Linked DNA regions of Homo sapiens: region 2 is linked to region 1. The links are contacts of gene promoters, found by promoter capture Hi-C in blood cells and fetal thymus (Javierre and others, 2016). All regions are on one chromosome and are shown on one strand. The core of a region is centred on a gene start or on the middle of the fragment in contact, and the rest is flanking DNA. Distances in the headings are between cores, read along the strand shown. Region 1 holds the start of SPSB4 (splA/ryanodine receptor domain and SOCS box containing 4). Region 2 has its middle 50 kb from the start of PXYLP1.

Region 1 (6,897 bases), core at 1,305-3,804:
GGAGAAGGGCAGTACCAGACCTGAGGACCCCTGGGATCATCTAGATTTTACTCTGTGGCAGCCTTAAGGAGGTCCTGAGCTAGGGAGAAATGTGATCTACATTTTTAAAAGATGCTTCTGATAAATGGTTATGACTACTTGCTAATTTGATACATTAAAAAAAAATCTTGTAATTTTAACTTGCATTTTTCGTATTGAGGTAAGGTATCTTGTCATATGTTTTGGTATCATTTCTATTTTATTTCGCATGTATGAATCGTGTCTTTGCCCATTTGATCTTTTGTTTGTTGACCTCAGGAATCTCTTACATATTTAAAGAGATGAGCCTGTTGTGATAGGAGTGGTATATGTCATATGTGACAGTTTGTCATATATCTTTTGACTGTTTCTGGTGATTTCTTTTCCTTGCAGATTTTATTTTTATATCATTAAATATATCTTTAAAATAAACGAGAAATACAAACTGGAGAGATATTTGGGTAGAAGGTCCAGTAAGTTGAATTTTGTTTGTGATTTGCCAAAGGTGGCTTAAATTCTTTTCATTACCATTTTTAAAAATGGAATAAATTAGAGGGTATGTGTCTCAGAGGAATATGCCCTTGGGTAAAGGATGTTTATATCATGCTTTTACACATTTTACGTCTTCCAGACTTAAGCTCATCAAATTGCGCGGGTGGGGGGCAGGGGGCCAGAAAGGGGGTGGGAGGATAGAGGGCTCAGAGTCTGAGAGAAAGGAACTCCTATCTTCATCCCCCAACCCCCCAAGGAGGAGAGTGGGGCGCAGAAGAGGAAACCAAGCGGGGGGAGGTTAGAGAACTTGCCCAAGGTCACACCGCGAGCTGGTGGTGGAGACAGATTCGAACCCAAGCCTGACTCCAGAACTGAGAACTCTCCACCTTCTCGCGACAGCGGTACAGAAAAGTGCCCTCCTCTCCTTCCTGCCGGCAGCCGTCTGCGCTTGGCCATGGGCCGGCGGGAGCAGCCACTCCCCCGGTTCTCCCGCCAGTCAGAGGTCGGGGGCTCGGCGTCCCCTTCTGGCTTGGAGCCCCTGGCGCGTACAGAGCGACCAGGGCGGACACATTTGCCGCGCTCAAGTCTCTGACCCCCTCCCTCCTTCCCAGAGCCCTGCGCCTAGGGTTTCCTGAGCTCCCAACCCCCTCCCTTCCCGAGCATAGACAAGTTTGTATTCAAGCAAGGCCAGGACTGGTCCCTGAGTCGCTCTCGGGCCAGGCGACCAGCCTCACTGCCCCAGAGTCAGGAATAAACGGTAACAACAGCCACCGGTGCCTATTGCGTGACCCGTGCTTTACTTCCACCTCTCCGAATACCCCGGACGAACAGACCCCCAGGAATTATTGTCCCCATTACACGGACGACGGAACTGCTGCAGCTTCGGAAAGTTGGATAACAAGCTTGGGCTCGCAAAGCTAATAATAATACTAGCTAACATATGATTGAGTGTTTCCTGTGTGCCCAGCACATGTCTACCTACGAACACCATCCCATAGATCTTTCCAATACCCCTATAAAATGTGCACAATTATCATTCCCATCCTACGGATGAGGAAACAGGTTTGGCGCCCTGTCCAAGGTCACTCAGCCAGTGAGTGACGGATCCTGGATCCAAACCAAAGCGGGTGAATCGGATGGCAGTTTTTTGTGCGTTGTCCGCTACGCAGAGAAGCAAAGGGCTTAGAACCCATGATACCAAAGGCCGGGCCCCAAACGCCCCAGGGCTGCGCGCAAATCAACCATCTCGAACTGCCACAACCTGCAGAGAGGAATTCTCAGGGACTGGGACGTCAGGAGCGCCAGCTGTGTCGAGTGCTGGCCCGCACAAAGTCCGTGCAGCCGGATCTCGGCTCCCGGCCCCCGCGCGCCCCTCACCAGGAGCTGGAGAGTACTTACCATAAAAGAGAGGGCAAGCGCCTGTTCGGGAAGAATCCCCAGCGCTGGCAGGTCCTGGACTCCCTGGAGAGGGGTCTGCTGCCGCCGCCGCCCACTCAGGGGCGCCCGAGTGACCCGCAAATGCCGGCTCTCTCCGCACGGCCAGGGGCGCGTCCTCACGGCTGATGCCCGGCAGCAGCGCCCCCTCTGCGCTGCAGGATGGCCTGGAGTTAGGAGCGTTCTTGGCGAAGTTGGCGCTCAGGCGCCGGGGGTCGGGCCTGGAGTGGGGAAGCGCCTTACTGAAGCGATCCTGGGGGCGCTCCAAGGCCCGCGCTCTAGCCGCTTGGAAGCTTGGCGCCTGACCCGGAGGGCGACGAGTCCCGCGCTCAGGGCGCACGGGCCGCGCCTCGGCCGCTGGCCCCCGGCGCGCCGGGCGTCTTCCCCAGCGCCCTGAGCGCACGCAGCGGTAGCAGCAGCTGGGGCCCGGGCCCGGGATGTGGTGTGTTCATCGCCCTCCCCTGGGGCTGGGTGCTTTTGTGCGCGGGGCGCGCCGGCCGCCACGGCCAGCTCTGGATGCTGCAGCCGCCGCCGCCTCCCCCTCCTCCGCCGCCGCCGCCCGCTCCCCGCCTTCCCGGCCGGCCCGGAGGCTGCAGCTGAAAGCCGATCTGGCTGAGCTCATCCCTGAAGGCCACTAATCCAATAGCCGCGGAAGGCGCGGTCGCCGGGAACGCCCCTTCCCCCACCATCCCGCGCCCCGGCCGTCCCAGCTCGGGCCGCTGCCGGCGCCGCCACCTTCTCGAGGCCACCAGCTGGCGGGAGAGGGAAGTGGAGCCCGCGCCCGCGCCCCTGTGCCAAGGCGGCGGCGCGGTCGCCATTCACTCACCCGCCCACTCGCCCGCTCACTCCCTAGCTCTCGCATTCATTCCTGCGCGCGGGTCCTCCCGGATTCATTCAAGCGCTCCTGGAGCGCCAGGGTGGGTGCCCCTGACGGGGAGGAGACACCCAGTCACTAGGCAGCTTTGGTGCCTTTACTCAACGCACGTGGGAAATAGCAGCCAGGAGGAAAAAAGGGTGGTTTATTATCCCCCTTCCTCAGACACACACGTCCACACTTTATTTTTGAGATCAGGCTCCAACTCATCTCTTAAAGTCCAATTTCATACCGCACCTGCTCAAGGAGCGTTCCCCGCCCACCCGAGGCGCAGGAAGTCGGTCTCTTTGCTCTACCAGCGCTGATGGTGGGCCGCCTCATTGGGAGCCTGAACTGAGCGATGGGGTAAAGGGCGTGGCCAAAACAGAAGCCTCGAGGGTGCTTCTGGTATCTGCGCTTCCTTGGGGAAATTGAAAGTTCTTGGTTTGGTGGCCCTCGTCTGTGCTCCCAGAATTGACTTTAGGTCCATTACGCAGTCATTTGCTAACCCAATCCCTCTCTGTGCCAGGTACCAGGCAGAGTCTAGATGCAGACAGAGTCTAGATGCAGACAGAGTCTAGATGCAGAGTGCGCATTTCATCAAGGACATGGAAAACAAGTAAAGACAATCCAACTCTATGAAGGAAACGTTTTGAGAGAGGTTCTGGGGCGAATTTGTCAGACTGGAAAGGGCAACTGGGAATGTTTCCTAGTAAATGTGTCTACATGAATTAGCTCCTGGAGGCAGGGGTACAACATGGTCACCTGGAGAGCTACCTATCACAGCACAGAGCCTGTGCTATGAGCAGAGGGGGTATGACGGAACTGGAGGGATGGACGGTGTCTAGGGTCTTGGGTGGAGACTGTATCAAGAGCTTGACCTTCCCCATCACTTTGGGAGGCCTTTAACCAGGGTAGTGACCTTGTCGGATTTGCATTCCAGAAAGACCTCTTAGCAGCCAACTGGATGGATGGATGGAGGAAACCAGGTTGGCAGCTACTGTAATAGTCTAAGCATAAGATGATGCTTTATGAACCAAGATAACCATGATGAGGTGACAAAAGTGTGTATTGACACGTATTTATTGTACTTATTCTAACGTTTCATCACTGTCTGTTTGCATGTCTGCCCCTCCTAAAACTGTGAGCCCCCCCTGGAGGGCAAGTATAGGTACCTCACACATCTCTGGATGCCCTGCACCAGCATAGGATAGATGCTGAGGACAGTGAATGTGATTTGAACTGCCCTAAGTGGCAGTGCTGACCTACATTCACACTTGGTGTCTTTCCTTCCTACCTCCTATTGACAAGCTCCTGGAGCACCTCTACTGTGAGCTACTGTGGGGGTTATGGATGTGGTTGGGGAGCAAGAAAAGAAAATTTGTGGAAAGAAGCTCAGAAGCAAAGGAAAGTTTAAAGCAGACGTTCATGCTGATGGTTTCTCTACCCATCTGGCTGACAGGCTGGGTGTGTGTGTGGAGGATGCCCGTTGCTTCCACTCGGTGCTGGGAAGCATCACAGTAGCTTCAAGGATAAGGGAGGGAGGGAGCAGTGGCCACAATTTGAGAAAACAACTCCCCCCCTCCCTTGGGGGCTCCAGTTAGGTTCACCACACTGGCCTTTCCCAATGAGATTATGCCCCAGGCACAAAGGAGTGGGCCAAAACAGGGCCCCCTTGTGTCCCTGTAGACCCCCAAATCCTCCAGCCTCTGGATAACAAGGGAAACAACTTGCCATTTGGGGAGAAGCCAGGATAGCCTGGCTACTAAAATTCTTTAGATTGAGATCAGCAGCTTCTAAATGGCCCCCAGTGATCCCTGACTCCTGGTATATACTCCCTTGTGTAAACCCTTTCCCTTAAAGTGTGGGCTAGACTTACTGACTTGCTTCTCACTAACAGAATACAGCAGAGGTAATGGGATGTTCCTTCCAATATTAGGTTATAAGAAGACTGTGGCTTCTGTTTTGAGCATACACTCTTGCTCTCTTTTGGGATCACCTCTCTGGAGAAGCCAGCTGCTATATCCTGCAGTGGCACTGTGGAGAGAGGCCCATATGGTGAGTGACTGAGACCTACCGATAACCACATGAGTGAACTTGGGAGCAGATCTCTGCCCCGCCGAGCTGAGCCCTTCATAGGACAATACAGCCCTGTGTGATGCCTTGACTGCAACCTCATGAGAGATCGTGAATCACCGAAACCAACTACCTGTGCTTAGATTTCTGATGCATGGAAACTGTAAGATAATAAATGTTTGTTGTTTTAATCAGCTAAATGTTGGAGTAATTTGTTATTCAGCAGTAGGTAACTAATGCAAGATGTTCTTAACTGTCCAAGAGTGAGTCTAAAAATGCAACCGTGAAAAACTAGCCACAGTATTGCTCTAAAGAATGTACAGTATTGCATGGGCATAGTCAGACAGCTCTGGGCTTAAATCTCAATTCCAAGCCTTTGGGTCCTAGCTTTCTCATTTCTAAACAGGAACAGAAGAATGTCCCTAGAGTACAGTTGTGGGTTGTAGCTTGTCGTGTAGTCGGTGCACAATAAATCTTTTTCCTTCTACTTCTCAGGAGTAGACCAAGATCTGTAGCATTCGTGGGATTCTTGGACTAAGGCAAAGTAATGCCTGGGGCAGAAGGTCCAGTAGGGAGCTGCTGCAGTCAGGGGTCCAGAACCCCTTGGATAAAGCAAAGCTCTGAACCTCACTCCTCCTGCCTTTGCTCCCACAAGGAATGGTATTCGGTCTACTTCCCAGTTTTTAGCTATTGAAATCTCGGACTCCTTCTCTGTCTTGTAAAAGTATTAACCATGGTTTTACAGAAGTTGGAGGAAAAACTTTCAGTTCTGAGAAATTTTGGAGCTTGCAGCTTGCTCCAAGGAGGTCTGTGGCAAGACAGAACTGTGTTGTGTGAGGTTTGAATGTCCTCTGCCCACCCCTCAGGAGCAACCCTGTTTGAGCCCAGCCTGCCATGCAGCATTGTCCATCAGGTGCTCAGCTCTCAAATTCTGTTCCTCTTTACAGCCCAAGCATCACCATCTCTTTCCCTAGCAGTTATAGCGGCCCCCTCACCTCTACTGCTGGGCTCTCTTCATGAAGGAAAAATCACCCTTGCCACTCCCTTCAGAGGTACCCCATGGTCCACAGCATAATTTTCATGCTTTTTCATGGAATCTGGCTCCCTGCCTACTCATCTAGTTTCACCTCCTCTCATTTGCGCTCTGGGCCAGGCCACACTGGGGCCCCCTGAGCTCCTCCATGCTCTTTCTCCCTGCCACAGGCCATTGTAGGTGCTTACCTTTCTTCCTGGTACAGACTTTCCAGGTAACTCTAATTCATACTTCGTCTCTCTGCTTGTATACATGTCATCTCCTCCAGGAAGCCTTCCCAACACTGCAGGCACAGCACGGTGCCCTCCTATGTGCATCTCAAGCCTGTGCTTGCCTCTCTCACAACCCCAAGTCCCACTGTTGTGACCTCCTTTCTTGTCCCTCACCCCAAGATATGAGCACTTCAAGGGCAAGGCTGTCTTTTTCATTTTTATAGCTGTTACACCCCCAACCACATTTTCTTCTTGCTAATTTCTCAAAGCAGAAAGCTCCACAGTCTTCCCAAATAGCCCAGGCTGGATTAAGGGCCCCTTCTGTAAGCCCTACCACACCTTGTTGCTTTACATCTGTCATAGCACCTTGAAAACATTTGGGGAATTGTCAGACTCTTGCATCACATGGTGACTCTGTAGGGCAGGACTGTGTCTGATTCATCCCAGTGTTCCTAGTTCTCAGCCTGGGGCATGGTATACAGTCGACAAACAGTAGATGTTTGTGGAATAATTAAAGGTAAAGGAAAAGAAAAGAAAGACAGGCAGGCAGGGAGGAAGGGAGGGAGGAAAAAAGGAAGAAAGGCCAGCTCCATTGGCTTCTCTCTCTCCCTCTCTATTTCTGTCTTCCATTTAGGTATTGAATGATCAGAATTGAATTAATCATAATCCTTGATCATGACACATTGTCAACATTAGCCCAAGTATGGGACTTATTAATTCATGTATTTATTCATAACATGATGAACACACATGAACCCACTATTGAACCCAAGACCTAG
Region 2 (6,897 bases), core at 1,329-3,828, 130 kb before region 1:
TCAGTAAGACGGGAGCTGCAGAAGATGCCTGCATTCACCTGTCACTTCACATGTGGCTGGCACAGTGTTGGTGAGGAGACAGCTGCTCTGTTGCTTTTCCTGCCCTGCCTCTATTCCCTTTCTGGTACCAGTGGCTCAATTTCTCTCTGGGGGAACCACCCCTCCAACTCTCTGTCCATGGCTGGACCCTGCCCTGTCCCAGGTATACCCGTAACTCAGGTTACATTCCTCTGAGTGCAATGCTTGCTTCAGAAATGGGCCGGGCACGGGGGCTCACACTTGTAATCCCAGCACTTTGGGAGGCCAAGGCAGGTAGATCATCTGAGGTCAGGAGTTCGAGACCAGCCTGGCCAATATGGCAAAACCCCATCTCTACTAAAAACAACAACAACAACAAAAACAAAACAAACAAACAAAAAATTAGCTGGCTGTGGTGGTGCATGCCTTATAATCCCAGCTACTGGGAAGGAAGAGGCAGCAGAATCGCTTGACCCCAGGAAGTGGAGGTTGGAGTGAGCTGAGATGGCACTGCTCTCTAGCCTGGGCGACAGAGCGAGACTCCACCTCAAAAAAAAAAAAAAATTAACATGTGGCCCAAGCAGACCAATGAGTATCAGCCCTTGGGCGTCTGCTGCTACTCTTGCAACAGAGAAAGCCTGTTTCAGCTTGGGGGGGTAAACCGCTGAGATGTAGCCTAGAAATTTCAAGGTCGCTAGTAGAGGAAACTGCCTGGGAATGAACCAACCCAAAGGAAGCATAAGTGAAGGGTGGAAAGAGGTAAACCCCAATGACATCATTTTAATCCTGGGATCTAGCTGTACCTAAAGCCATGTAATTTCTTGGTTAAATTGATTTGCCTTAGGTTATTTCCACTTGTAACTAAAATTCAAGTCCTGACTAATCCAACTAGTGGACACATGCCCCAGTTTGGAGACACAGGCCTGGTGAAAACAATGTTGGGACATTGGTATGGGATCAGAACGCAGATGGGTCCTAGCGTGCCCACAAACCTGCTATGTGATTTTAGAGGTTGGATTAGATAATCACCAGGGTTTCTTCCAACTTTAAGATTCTCCCCTAAAAATCCCATAGAGCTGGGTGCAGGGCACACACCTGTAATCCCAGCTACTTGGGAGGCAAAGGTGGGAGAACTGCTTGAGCCCAGGAGTTTGAGTTCAGCCTGGGCAACACAGTGGGGCCTTGTTTCTAAAAACAAACAAACAAACAAACAAACCCCTAGCCCCTCACAAAACAACAATAAAACAAAACAAAATAAAAAAAACTTGTAGAATTTTTTAAAATTTTTTAAAAGGCAAATTGACTGTAGACTTGGGGTGAGATTCCTAGGCTGAAAATCTGAAGATTCTAGCTCTGTATCTGGGCGGGACTTGGAGATCTGTATTTTTAACACAACGTCCAGGTAATTTTGATTCATAGCCAGGTTTGGAAACCACTCAAATTCTTAAATTCTTCTTCCTGAGGCAGCCACTTAAAGTCTTCCAATAAGAATTTATTGAACACCTACTGTGCATCAATGGCTCCTTCCTCTGACAATGGCCTCCTTGTTGGGTGGGGAAACTGACCTCTGTCCTCATGCTGGACTTTCTATAAAATCCCAAAGGTAGCTCTGAGGAAAACATACATTACTGGCCGCAAACTTCCTCCAGTCATTCACTTGCCTCATAAATGGCATTTAAAGCTTTTATTTATGAATAAGCTATTCACTGTCCAGTTGGTTCGTTTATAAATAGCAAGTAGATTAATGTGTACATTTATGTTGCTTTTGCTGTTGATGTCTCATTTAAAACCTTAACAAGACTGTGCCATAGCAACTGTAACTCACACATTACTAGAATTCAAATGGCTTATTATCAAGATAAACATTTATTATATTAAGGTATGCAATATTAGTGTCATATTTTATACATGGTTACTTGTAGCATAGTTCAGCTCGGGGCCAACACCATATTGAATTATTTAAAGCTATTTCTCCCAGGGTTATTAAAAAGTTCAGTAAAATATATATTAGTGTATAAAATTTTAATGCATAGTTCACATTGCAGTGTTTGCAAGCTCTTGGCCTTTAGAAGAGGAAAGCCAGGGAAGCAGAGCTCCAAACAGACCCTCTCTTTGAGAAAGTGCTCACAGCGCAACAAAACACAACCTCTACTTTGTCTCAGCAATGACTTCACGCCCTGCAAAACTCTCTTTATAGAAGTTACAGGCAAGGAGGCCAGAATAAGGTGAAGCCACCACTCATGGCTCTGGGAGAACTTTGGATCCTCAATCTCAGTGACTTTGACTCCTGCTGACTTGAGTACAGGGAGAGAATCCACCCATTGTCTCTGCTCTCCAGGGCCCCCATATGGACTGCATTACTTGAGTGGGCAATTAATTTGGTGTTTGCCATACTGTTATTAACCCATTTTGTGAGTGTTTGTTGCAGCTTCTCTGAATTGCACCTTCCCTAGAAGGGCTGGGTGGAGCTGAAGTACATGGTTTTGAAAACTAAGCCCTAGTGAAGCCCTGTTTGGGTCCTGTCAAATGTAGGGCCTACATTGCCAAAGTCCTCTCCTTGCCAACCAGAGCCCCCTATATCAGGGCAAGAGACCCTGCTGGCCAAGGCGTGGTCACACCATGGTTGGATTAGGTGACCTTCAGCTTGAGCAAGTCACTGCATTCCCTTGAGCCCTAATTTTCCCAGCAAATACCTGAGGATGTGAATATAGGACATGTGTCTCAGAGTCAGTGCTCCACTGTTGTTCATTCCCACACCAAGAACGTTGATTTTCTTCTCCTGAGATCTGGGTCATCAGCACCTTCTCATTTTTCTTCTTTATCCCCCAGATGGCTGTGGGCCAGGCTGGCCTCATAGTAGGTGCTCAGTTAGTAATTGTTCTATGGCGGTAAAATATATGGTGTTGTTCATTTCTCTTATCCTCTTTGTGGAGGAGACTCCAGAAGGAGAAAAAGGTCATTTTTCTTTCTTCTCTTTTCTTTCTTAACAGATAAGGGCAGACTAGGTCTGGACTCCTTTGCCTCTGGAGATGTTGATAGCTTTTGGGTTTCAGAGCCCAGAACAGAAGCTACCAGGGCTCCTAGGTTGGGATTCCCTGAAGCAGACCTTAGTACAAGAGTTTGTGGGCAATCTGGGAGGTGACCACAGGAGGCACACAGTAGGCAGAGTGGAGAAGTGAGCCCAGGCATGGAGGGCAGCTAATGCAGGGTGTGTTGACCAGAAGGTTACTGCCAAGGGCACCTCGGGCTCCATCCCACTGGGAGGTTGTGTGAAACACAGCTCCATGTGTTGTTCCACCATAGGGACCAGGAGCTGATGTATTTATCCTCAAGTCATTGATTGAGGTTGCTTCCAGGTCGTTAACTTCCAGGTACTTCTGGCTTGCACAATGAGCCAAGCACACCCCTGTGGCTATGAAAGTCCTCAAGCAGAAGCTTAGTCACTGGAAAGGCGAGTTCTGGGCTTAGCAGCAGACACCTAGAGTGATTGCTGCACCTGGCACCCAGAAGACAGCCCTTCTACACTAGGGGCCCAAGCTTGGTTCTGCCTGAGGAGGAGGAGGTGGAAGCTGGTGCCTGGTGTTTGGGGTGACTCCTGGAGGTGGAGGAGAAGGTGATGGTGAGGTCCATACATGGTGAAAATGGCACCTCACCTTCGTGTCAAGGCCTCCAGGGGATTATACACAGTTGTCAGTTACTGGGCCCTAAAGGATGTGATGTTGGGAGTAGCAGCAAACAAACACTGTGCCCTATACAGGGTGTAAAATGTGACACCACCCATTTTAAACAGACAACATGGGCAATGAGAATCTTAGTGGTAGGTTGAAGACCAGAGAGGTCCTTCCCCAAGTTTTCAAGACTGTGAGAGACTCACTGGCTTCTTGGGTGACCCTAGGGAAGAAAAGGTATCCCCAGTAGTGAGTTATGTTGGGCGTTTCACTGCCCAGGGAAGTAGGGACTGAGAGCCAGATGGAATTTGAATTAGGAAAAAAGAAAGTAATGCAATGTTTCTCGCTCTTGAATGTTGTGGTGGAAGTGCAAATCCATTTCAGTGGTTGGAGTGGATACAGTTTTGAAATCAGACACGAGGGAAGCCTGGAATGTGAGGCCACAATACCAAAGGCAAGCAGTTGTATTTAAATCCTGATGTCAAGCACAGGCACACAAGAAGAGGGGTCTCCTTTGCAGTGAGAAAAAAAATAGCATCAAGAAACTAGAGCAATAGCGGAGTGTAATTTTTAAGAAAGAGAGACAAAGAAGTTGCCTCTTTCATCCTTAGAGACTTACAAAGTGTGTGAAATAATGGAGAAGGTGTAGAATAGGACTTGGATCTTATGACAAAAATCTAGACACTTGGGAGAACTTTAAAACACAGAGAAGGATATCCTATTTCCCCAAGGGCAACCTGTCACTTTGAGAGATAGCACAGGCTGGAAATGGAGACAGGTTCAAGAAAGGCTAGGAGGAATTCACAATTGGCAAAGGCCGGTATGTTACTAGAAGAATAAAGTTTGGGGCACCTGTCTCTAATTGAAGGACATTTATGATCCTCACAAAACCACCACAGCCAGTGGAATCATACGAAAGGGCAGGCCGATGGGTCTGAGGTGTCAATCTACAAGGACCACTAAGACAGCAGCAGAATAAATGGAAAACATGGTACCAGTTAACTCAGATGTCTGCACTTGACACCACACAAATGTGGCAAAATGTACCATGGTCCACTTCTGTTGAGACAGAAAGCATACTAGGGGACATTTAAATATTCATTGAGAACACTTCTCTGACACATATGGAACAAATATTGTTAAGCTATTGAAGGGGCTTCAGATTCATTAGCCTGTCTGAGACATGCACATGTCTCAGGCCAGCCCTGAGATAATATTCTAACTGTTGGATAATCACGGTGGCCAGACATGTCTACAAGAAAGCAGAGTCTTCCTAAGAGTGGGTGGGAAGGGCATCTATATCTCCACCAGAGAGAGAGAGTCTGGTGGGAGGAATCAACCGCCTGCCTGTGCAGCTCAGTGAGTTCTCATACCTGTATACGGTGTCTATTGTTCACAAGGTCTGGATCCTCGTGAGGTAGATTCTTCAGCCATGCCATCTAGCAGAGGAGACTTTTCACTCTGCCTGCCCACATAGGTGGCTAGTTTAAGGAATTTATTTCTTTTAGAGGAGATAATGTAAAGTGCTTTGCATAGTGTCTGGCACAGCATGTTAAAAGCAAAACTTTAGACAAAATAAATTTAACAGAGTTTATTTGAGCAAAGAACAGTTCATGAGTTGGGCAGCACTCAAAACTGGAAGAGGTTCAGAGAGCTCCACCACAGCAGCATGAGCAACCAGCTTTTATAGGCTGAATGCAAAAGTAAAGTTGACAAAATTACTTGATTGGCTACAGCTGAGCATTTGCTTTATTTGGGTATAGTTCAAGGGGAGATCCCTAGCTCTATAACAGACTGGCTAATTGGCTGCCTGTGATTGGATAAAGCTCAGTTTTGTTGTTGTTGTTTTAAATTGGTTACAAGAAATGCCTCCAAGTGAAGTTTTGGGTTAACTCTGTAAGAGCTCCAGATATACAGACAACCTTAGGCTAACGGTCTCCTTCTTATTTGCTTTAATTATAGTAAGCAGTCAATTATGACTGGATATTATTTTCAGTTATTATTATTATTGAAATATTTCTTGCACTATTCCTCTGCTCTTCTCTTCCTCACCCCTACTCTTACCAGTCCCTCTGTGACCCTGTTCAACACTGTGTTTGCTGGTGGAGGTGAGCCTGGTGTGGTCTTGGGTGTCACCAAGCTGGGGGCAACCATGCCTTCCTGGGTGCTGTGTATATACAGAGAAAACATAGACATTTTCTCATCAGAAAGACCTGGGCCTAGCTCAGCTCCACCATTTGCTGACTCTGAACCTTGACCAAATTTCTAAGCCTCCATTTTGTTACACGGACAGACTCAAAGCCCTCATGTAGAAATATTGTAACTGTGTATAAAGCGTCTGATTCTTGCTGAGCTCAACAAATAGAAGCCCCTTATCACTGGAACATGTGAGGAAATACTAAAGCATCAACAAACCGGGTTTGTTGATGTCCTGCCTGATCTCCCGTAGGAAAGGGTAGCAGGGAAACACTGGATGGGGAAGGAGGCCACAAGCCATCACGCTCTGAACCACAGCCTCCATGGGGCATTTGCACTGGCCAAGACTTGGGCACATCATCTATTTATATGGATTTCCTTCCCCATATTCCATGGGCCTATGCACCCACTCTGCACAAAAATTCCCATCCCCCAGCACCTCCTGCCCCCTCCCCTGCTCAGATGCATAACAACATTGGGCTTCCTGGAACCCTGGCCTGGCCAGGGAAGTGGGGAGGTCAATGGGCATATTTTCCCAGTTGTCTGGCAAGCAACAAGATTGTTTTAGAAGTTCAGGTTGCAGAGGATCCTGGTTCATTATTGTACACAGGTGTCTGCTGGCTCCCAGACCCAGGACTTTCTCAAATGCTGCCAGCACACCCACAGGGCTCTAGACGAGCATCGATTTATTTAAAAATAAACAACGGATTGAGAGATTTTAGAGAAAGCTTTTATTTTCATTTTACTCCAGTCCATTCATTTAGTTGCAAGGAAACATGCTTCCAACCTTTGGTAAAAAGAGAAGCCAAGAGAATGTTGAAGAAGTCCAAGAAAGTAAGAGCCAGAATGACAATTCAGTCAGTTATCTGTTACAGATGTTGATGATATTTTACCTCCTTGGATGATGGAGGGAGCTGGGCCTCTCCTCACAAGAGAAGGGTCTTCCTCAATGTGCGAGCTTGAGAAGCACCAATACCTCCTGCAGAGGCACTAACAGCTGGAGCCTGGGTGCTGT

Evidence for each region. Contacts are between HindIII fragments. The CHiCAGO score rates a contact against its expected background, and 5 or more counts as called.
Region 2: a contact is called between a fragment that was not itself captured here and the fragment with the promoter of SPSB4 in region 1, in 3 of 17 cell types (M1 macrophages, M2 macrophages and M0 macrophages). The highest score is 6.2, in M1 macrophages.

The regions. Positions count from the first base shown.
Region 1 is chr3:141,047,004-141,053,900 of GRCh38, reverse strand. It overlaps SPSB4 (splA/ryanodine receptor domain and SOCS box containing 4), which reads right to left and starts at 2,554. Exons shown (of 3, transcript NM_080862.3): 1 at 1,909-2,554. The HindIII fragment of the contact is 5,905 bases long and covers 2,240-6,897 here.
Region 2 is chr3:141,178,582-141,185,478 of GRCh38, reverse strand. No RefSeq gene overlaps it. Among named protein-coding and RNA genes, the nearest start is that of PXYLP1, 50 kb to the left of the region's middle. The HindIII fragment of the contact is 1,754 bases long and covers 1,702-3,455 here.